Regions from separate parts of the Homo sapiens genome. Here all the other regions are linked to region 3. Evidence: promoter capture Hi-C in 16 types of primary human blood cells and fetal thymus (Javierre and others, 2016). All regions are on one chromosome and are shown on one strand. Each heading gives the region's core, a stretch centred on a gene start or on the middle of the fragment in contact. The rest is flanking DNA. Distances are from core to core; before and after follow the strand shown. Region 1 overlaps E2F3 (E2F transcription factor 3). Region 2 overlaps E2F3 (E2F transcription factor 3). Region 3 holds the start of MBOAT1 (membrane bound glycerophospholipid O-acyltransferase 1).

What was found. Contacts are between HindIII fragments. The CHiCAGO score rates a contact against its expected background, and 5 or more counts as called.
Region 1: a fragment that was not itself captured here is called in contact with the fragment with the promoter of MBOAT1 in region 3 in 3 of 17 cell types (neutrophils, erythroblasts and non-activated CD4 T cells); the score reaches 7.2 in neutrophils.
Region 2: a fragment that was not itself captured here is called in contact with the fragment with the promoter of MBOAT1 in region 3 in 1 of 17 cell types (M0 macrophages); the score reaches 5.2 in M0 macrophages.

What each region holds. Positions count from the first base shown.
Region 1 is chr6:20,467,421-20,470,120 of GRCh38, forward strand. The region is part of intron 1 of E2F3 (E2F transcription factor 3); the gene reads left to right. Among named protein-coding and RNA genes, the nearest start is that of E2F3-IT1, 31 kb to the left of the region's middle. RefSeq lists an enhancer at 1-143. The HindIII fragment of the contact is 579 bases long and covers 1,143-1,721 here.
Region 2 is chr6:20,493,320-20,496,019 of GRCh38, forward strand. It overlaps E2F3 (E2F transcription factor 3), which reads left to right. Exons shown (of 7, transcript NM_001949.5): 7 at 1-395. Among named protein-coding and RNA genes, the nearest start is that of CDKAL1, 40 kb to the right of the region's middle. The HindIII fragment of the contact is 1,213 bases long and covers 836-2,048 here.
Region 3 is chr6:20,211,099-20,213,798 of GRCh38, forward strand. MBOAT1 (membrane bound glycerophospholipid O-acyltransferase 1) reads right to left here and starts at 1,371. Exons shown (of 13, transcript NM_001080480.3): 1 at 1,038-1,371. The coding sequence starts at 1,136. RefSeq lists a silencer at 1,177-1,716 and an enhancer at 1,899-2,399. The HindIII fragment of the contact is 5,898 bases long and covers 1-2,700 here.

The DNA.
Region 1 (2,700 bases), core at 182-2,681, 260 kb after region 3:
ACAGTGCATTTTAGTAAAGCCTCCTCAGGAAGCTGATGATACCAATCTAAAAAATGAAACAATTCCTTCACACTATACCCTCTGCTTTCAATGGCTTCTTGATTTTGCCCTTTCCTGACACTGCCTTCTTGGTGCCCAAAGTCCTTAGGGGTGCTTTCTGATGTCGCTGCATAATTTTTCCCTTGTGGGAGCGAGGTTCTGTGAGTCTACTGGCTGAAGCATAGATTGACTGAAATCTGAACTTGGTCTGGCATCGAGGTTTGGCCCAGCACTTTCTTTTTACTTTCATTCTAGCTATTACAGATAACAATAACCAAAGGGTTGCATATTTTGTTTTTTTCTTATTAGTTCGCATTTCTTCATGCATTCAGCAAACCACCTTCCAGGGAGTTAGATTGATCCACCTCTAAATTCCATTGGTAACTTTTACCTTTAGTGACTGATGCCACTCCATACCATGGGTATGGAGCTGCCACTCCATACCATGGGTGACCACATGGGCACCCAGGAATCAAAGGTTTCTCACCCCCCAACCCCTTTATCTGTTTTCTTCCCAAACATGAGCTAGGGATGTTCTAGCAGTCCCGATTCTGACACCAATTCTGAAAATGCTGAGGAATGAACAAACTCGGTTTCTCCCACTATTTTCGCATATTACAGTTGTGACACCAGATGTGTGGGGGGTTTCCCCAGGCATCAAGCAAGCAATTCATTCTGCAGCGGACACTAGCTGGGCGTCCTCCAATTCAATTCTGACACCATCTACCCAGAGAAGTGTCACATCACACAGATTGAGGGTTCAGTCTCACAAGACCACCCCCAACTTCTGATGCCAGTTGCAAGCCCCAGGTTGTTTTACCTGTGCCTCTGGCCAACCTGCTGTAAATCGGGGTTCCCGCGGCCCATTCCTCAGATTCAGTTAATTTGCTAGAGCAGCTCACAGAACTCAGGAAACATTGAGGTTTACTGGTTTATTATAAACGATATCACAGAGGATGCAGATGAAGAGGTGCATAGGGCAAGGCATGTGAGAAGGAGCACGCAGCTTCCATGACCTCCTTGCATGCGTCACCCTCCAGGAACCTCCTTGTGTTCAGCTACCTGGAAGCTCTCCGTACCCTGTCCTCTTGGGTTTTTTGGGAAGCTTCATTATGTTGGCATGATTGATTAAATCACTGGCCATTGGGGATCAACTTAACCTTCAGCCCCTCTCCTCTCCTTGGAGGTTTAGAGATGGGTCTGAAAGTTCTGACCCTCTGATCCTGCCTTGGTTTTTCCAGTGACCATTGTCCATCCTGAAGCCACCTAAGGGCAGCCGGCCTTCATTCAAATCATCAGCACACAAAAAGATACTTCATCTTCTATAGTAAGTGGGCCTACCTTACACCAAGACTGATAAAGTGAGGGGTTTTCTAAACATAGGAGAGAAAGTTCAGGTGCTGGGCACTCAAATCAAGTGACAGATGTTCACCTCGGGCATCAGCACAGTGTATGCAGTGAAGGAAAACTGCAGAATGACAGCCATGCAGCAGACCTGGAGAACCCCTAGCTAGTCTCAGGTCTGGATATCAGGAGGCCAGAGAGCTTCAGGCAGGAGGAAAAGTGGAGATTTGGTAGAATATCTGATATGATGGAGAGTTGGAAAAAATTTGAGGATTTGGTGAGGGCAAATGGTGCCAACGAGCTAGAAAGACAATTGGAAACTCCAAAGAAAACAAACAAGCTTTACAAGAAAGGATATATAGTCTCAGTATATTATTTGATACTGCAGTGAATACTGTTTATACAGTCATGATGTATAGCACTGGTTTTTTATTTAACCAAAACTAATTATGTAACTATTGGGGGGAAATGGAAGAAGTGAGATGGGTATCGTATCATTGAAGGATGTCAGTACATTAGAACTAAAATGGCTAAACCAGAAATAGCTGTGTGAGCATATCACTTAGAGATACAGAGGTGACCACCAGGAGAAATAGTAAAGGTGGTTCCCCCAGCAAGGTAGCCATTATAGGCTCTCTGAGCTAGTGGGTTTTGAAAAACCATGTGCATCTATTTGTTTTTTAATTGTCTTAAATTATTCTTAAAAACAAAATAAGTTTCTATAGGAGGGACCGCAGTCACCAGTTCATAGGTTAAATGGCTTTTATTCCAAAAGTTCTAAGTCAGTGAGATTGCTTTTCCTTTAGAAACATTCATATATATGTGGTTAGATCCCCAAACTAGTCCACAAATACAGGTTATAGTGAAATTAAAATATCCTAGTTTAGAAATCAAAAGAAGAAAAATGACCAACTTTGGAGTCCATTCTAGTAATCCAAGTGAGAAAGGATGGGGATACGGTTGGAGTTTTCTGCACACCTGTTCAGTTCACCAGTTATTCTTCTCTGAGATAGTCTGGTTTGTGATTAGGCTTCTCACCCAGCGGCTCACAGAGGATGCTACTCTCATTAGATTCTGCACTTACCTCTCACTGTAAAAAGCTGGAGAAGACTTTGGAGCCCTTCATCTTAGGTAACCTCGTCAATGACAGGTTGACACTAGGAGTGCATTTAGCTTGGCATGAAAGGGACCATAAGCTGTCCCCCTTCCTCATCATTCTGTACTCAAAGCCCCTCACTACTCACAAGCACCTCCGAACCAGGACTTTTCAAAATCTCTGCTTCTGTTCTTATTTGGACAGCCCATTCAACTCCTCTG
Region 2 (2,700 bases), core at 192-2,691, 280 kb after region 3:
AAATAAGAATTCAGTGTGTGCATGACAACTCGTGTGTATGAGAAGGAGGGATATGAAGGAAGATGGCTTGCAGAGTAAGTCGGGTGGCAATTGTCAGGGTGTGGGAATTTCTTTTCCTACGGGGTACGTGATTTTGTAAAAAGGAAGTATTTCTCCCAAAATTGGGAGTAGGCAAACTACTAATCAGTTTAGCTTTGTGTTGTATGCTAGTTTAAAAAAGAAAATATGTAATATAATGTAAAAAAAAACAAAAAAAAGCTTTTATGATGGATTTTGTAAATAGATTTGTTACAGGGTGACCTGTTCTCTAGCTGTGATCTTACCACTTCAAATGGGTGTAATTTGAATAAATTTTGTATGGTAAAGGATCAATAAAATGATTTTTTTTAAGAGTTCAGGCTTGTGGATGGGTTTTCTTTAATATTATCTTGTGCTCCTCTATTAATTGAATTTTTTTCATTTTCTTTTTCTTTTTTTTTTTTTTGTTTTGTTTTTTGAGGCAGAGTCAATCACTCTCACCCAGGCTGGAGTGCAGTGGCACAATCTTGGTTCACTGCAACCTCCACCTCCCGGGATCAAGTGATTCACCTGCCTCAGCCTCCTGAGTAGCTGGGACTACAGACACCCGCCACCACGACTGGCTAATTTTTGTATTTTGAGTAGAGACGGAGTTTCACCATGTTGGCCAGGCTGGTCTCGAACTCCTGACCTCAAGTGATCCGCCTGCCTCGGCCTCCCAAAGTGCTGGGATTACAGGCATGAGCCACCGCGCCCAGCCTATTAATTGAATTTTTTAAAACATTCTTAAACAAGTTAAGGAGAAAGGCTAAACAAAAGCTTAAAACATCGTTTGCCTTAGACGGTATTTGGGACTCAGAACACTCAGCAAATATTTGGTGACCACTTCCGGTGTGCTCTGCACCCTGTGAAGTAGAACTTACCTTGTCCCTTTGACCATGTGCAGAAACCACTCGGACACTGAGTAATTGTTACACTGAGAAAGTGACAAATTTGACTCCTCGTAAGGGTTATAAAGCCAATACATTTTAATTCTGAAATCTGGTAATTACCTCCCATGTTCTAGATTGTGTATTTCTAGTAATGCCATCTAGGAGCAGATTTGAATTTTTTGACTGCCATGTCACACTGTTAACTCTGAACTTATCATTGAAAAACCTCAAAGTGCTATATATTGTACACACACAAAATCAATATAAAAGGGTATGAAGTTTAAAAAAAAAGGGCAGGGGGGGACGTTACCTGCCCCTCTATGCTATTCATGCCAGAGATAACCACTGTTCGCATTTTTCTTGTATTATCCTTCCAGTCATTTTCTAGGCACATATCTGTGCATGAACATGTGTATTTTATTTTATTTTGTTTGTATTTATTTATTTGTATGAGACAGAGCCTTGCTCTGTCGCCCAGGCTGCAGTGCAGTGGTGCAATCTCAGCTCACTGCAACCTCCGCCTCCTGGGTTCAAGTGATTCTCTTGCCTCAGCCTCCCGAGTAGCTGGGATTACAGGCATGCACCACCACGCCCAGCTAATTTTGTATTTTTAGTAGAGACGGAGTTTCACCATGTTGGCCAGGCTGGTCTCGAACTCTGGACCTCAGGTGATCCACCCGCCTTGGCCTCCCAAAGTGGTGGGATTATAGGGGTGAGCCACCAAGCCCGACCTATTTTGTTTTGTTTTTTGTTTTTTGTTTTTGTTTTTGTTTAGAGACAGGATCTCACTCTGTTGCCCAGGCTTGAGTACAGTGGCACCATCATGGCTCACTGCAGCCTCAGACTCCTGGGCTCTGGTGGTCCTTCCCGCCTCAGTCTCCTGAGTAGGTGGGAATAGTAGGCGTGCACCACCAAGCCTGGCTATTTTTTTTTTTATTATTTTTGTGGAGATGGGGTCTTGTAATGTTGCCCAGGCTGGCCTCAAACTCCTGTCCTTAAGCAATCCTCCCCCATCAGCCCCCAAAAGTACTGGGATTACAGTAAGCATGTGTGTTTTAACATGACTTAACATAAGTCATACCATATATGCTGATCTGAAGCTTTTTATTGCTATGTCACATTTTTCCATGTGAGTACTTGTAGATCGTGTTCATGCTCTTCAAAGGCTGCATACCATTCCAGTGATTTAAAAAAAAAATTTTTTTTTTTTTTTGAGATGAGTCTCACTCTGCTGCCCAGGCTGGAGTGGAGTGGAGTGATCTTGGCTCACTGCAGCCTCTGCCTCCCAGGTTCAGGCAATTCTCATGCCTCAGCCTCCCAAGTAGCTGGGATTACAGGTGCCTGCCACCATGCCCAGCTAATTTTTGTATTTTTAGTAGAGACGGGGTTTCACTATCTTGGCCAAGTTGGTCTTGAGCTCCTGACCTCAAGTGATTCACCCTCCTCGGCCTCCGAAAGTGCTGGGATTACAGGGGTGAGCCATCACGCCTGGCCTAAAAATGTATTTAATAATATACTTAGGTGATTTCCTGTTTGAGAGATAGTTTTGCTCATTTTGCTATTAAAAAAATGTAAAGTTTTTAGAATGCTTGTATGTCAGGTACTATATATTTGATGTGGTATAATTCTCGTAACAAAATTTATCATTAGTAACATTTGATAACATTCACAGTGCTGTATAACCATCACTTCTGTCTAGTTCCAGAAGACATTTTCATCACTCCAAAAGGAAACCTGTGTCCATAAATTA
Region 3 (2,700 bases), core at 121-2,620:
CTCAGAGTGAGCCAGGTATGAGGGTGGCTCAGTAAACAGGACCCGAATAAGGCAAATGTCCAGGTCTCACTTTCTCATTGCTGAAGGGGTGTGCGCAAAGGGCAGCAGGTGTGCTCTTGTTAAAAGGAAAGGAAAAGGAGCACTGGTGAGAGGAAGGGGAAGAAAACCAGGCAAAAAAGCATGAAACAAAACAGGAGCGCAGTGGGTCCTCCCCCAGCATGCCCTGCCCAATTCTATTTAAATCAACATTTACTGATTGGGTCACTACTAAGTATCCCGCAGATCTAGCCTGCAGCACCTGAAGAGACAAGGAAATGAGTAAGACGGGCTTCATCTTCAGGAAGGTTTCTTGCCAGGAATCACTGTTGTTGCCATTTTTAATTTTAATGGTTGTAGATAATTCCTGGACAGTTCAAATAACTTCACTGGGGCCCCTCTCCTCCCCCTAACCTGTCCTACTCAGAAGCTCCAGCCCCAGGCATATGAGCCAACCGAACCCTGGGAAAACCAAAGTGTCCTTGTGTGTCCCGCATCACACACGGTACAAAATAACTGTCACCCCTGAACAAGCCTCGCCTCAGAAGTCTAAAACCCAGGTCCTGCATTCAAAATCTATAGACTACCGTCTACAGATTCATCGCGCTTGTTTTTTAAGTAGGGTCATCTAAATTAAAAACAATAACGACTTGAGGACACTGATGAAAGAAACACTGGTTTCATGTATCAGACTACTTCAGAACTTGATTACAGGAAACGAGGCAATCCCAAACTTAAAGAAAAAAAAGTTCAGTAGAACTTGCCGCGCAGGCTGTACCAATATTTTTTCACACTTACAAGGAGAAAAACACTAACACCAACTCAAGAAGGGAAAACACACACACACACACACACACACACACACACACAAAAACCAACTGTCTAGTGTGTGGCTGTAAAATACGCCATGGAGGCGGAGGGACGGTGGCTAACACTTTCGCCCGCCCCGTGCACGCGATCGCTGGGGAGCTGGGGTCGCTGCGCTCCCGGCCTGCAGTTACCTGGTCCAGCGGGATGCCCAGGAGCTCGCTGAGCGGGTGCAGGTAGGTGGAGCCCGTGGTGCGGTAGGAAAGGCTGGACGGCTGCGGCTCTGCTGCCATCCTGCATCTTCGGGAGGTGGCTGCCCCTGTCCCAGCCCGCAACACCCCCTGCTCGGCGTCCTCCCGCCCGGGTGCTCTTGGGTGGTTGCCCCGAGAGGCGCACGGCCGCCTGGTTCGCGGGGGAGCGAACGGGAGGCCGGGGAATGCGAACCGGCGCAAACTCTCGAGGCGCAAACTCTCGAGGCGCAAACTTGGCTTTGGCGCTGGCGCTGCAGCCACGGGCGCCGTAGGAGGGCCGGGCCCAAGGCGCCCCGCTTCCCGCTCCCTTCCTCTCCGCGCCCATTGGCCCGGCCGCTCGGGACGGCCCCGAGAGGAGGGAAGGAGGGAGGAAAAGTGGGGACTCCGAGCCCGGCCCCCAAGCGCCGCCCGGCCCGCCCAGCCTGGCCTGCACCGAGGCCGACCGGGAGAGGGAAAGCGACGCCAGCGGGCGCCGCCGCCTGGCCCTGCAGCTGGAGGCGGGACGCGCCTTTCCTCCTCCCGGGCTGACCGTCCTAGCCCCCCGCCAGACAAAACGACCTCACCCAGCGGGCGCCTTCCACTAGAGAGCACCACCCACCCCGCCCCACCCTGTTTTGGTTTCGCCGCCGCAGTCGAAGCGGCTGAGTGGCTGCGTTTCCCTTTCAAGCCGTAGAGGGTTCCTCTGCCGGTGGCTGGAAGCTGGAGCGCCGCAGCCACCAGACTCCCTACTTCCTTTACCCTCCTCTGCGCTAGGCATAGTTTCCTACACCCTGATCTGACATGTTCGGTGTCACACAAGCAAATACAGGGGACTGCTAGCTTCGGGTCACTTCCGTCTCTGTGGAGTGAGAGTTATTTCACCTCTGTAAGAAACGGTGTTTACTGTCATACTATGTGCATTCTGATAAGTCATTTGCATGCCACGGGTCCTCAAAAAGGGTGCCTTGCTCCTTAACTTGTCTGCCCCCGAACACCCACACATCAATGTTACTTGGAAAACTTTTCCAAGTTATTGCTAGGTTCTGAGAAACATAAAAATCTTGAAGATCCTTTTCAGGAATCGCTAGCTGATGAAAAAGGGTTTCAGGAAGGTAATATTCTGGGCTGCTGGGTAGAAAACCAAAGAAAGTGAGCTCACGTGGCCCCCAGCCTCCGCTGGGTAAACCGGCATTCGATCAGACAGGCAATGACTTTCGGGGCCGACTTTATCAATGTGGCCTCCAGCTTCAAATTAAACCGAAGGCCTGTCAGGCACTGGCAACAACTTACTCTCCAAGACTCAGGCCTCACTCTTGCCTTCTTCAGGAGTTTTATCACCATCAAACTGCACTGAGCATTAAATTGCCAGGCCAGAGTTTCTCAACCTATGTCCCCTGTGGAGGAGGAAAAAAAAAAGTCTGTACCACCACTCCCACAAGCTAACCGAATGGAGATGTCACCACCAGATGATAATCTCTACCACTCACAAGCAAACCCACACTACAGACAGACAGACACATGCACACACGCACACAGGCATATACTTGAGGATCACTAGGCTAGATAGGTTCATTTAATATCATAGAGTCCTGGAAAATGACCAGCATTGGAGCAACATTCATCTTAT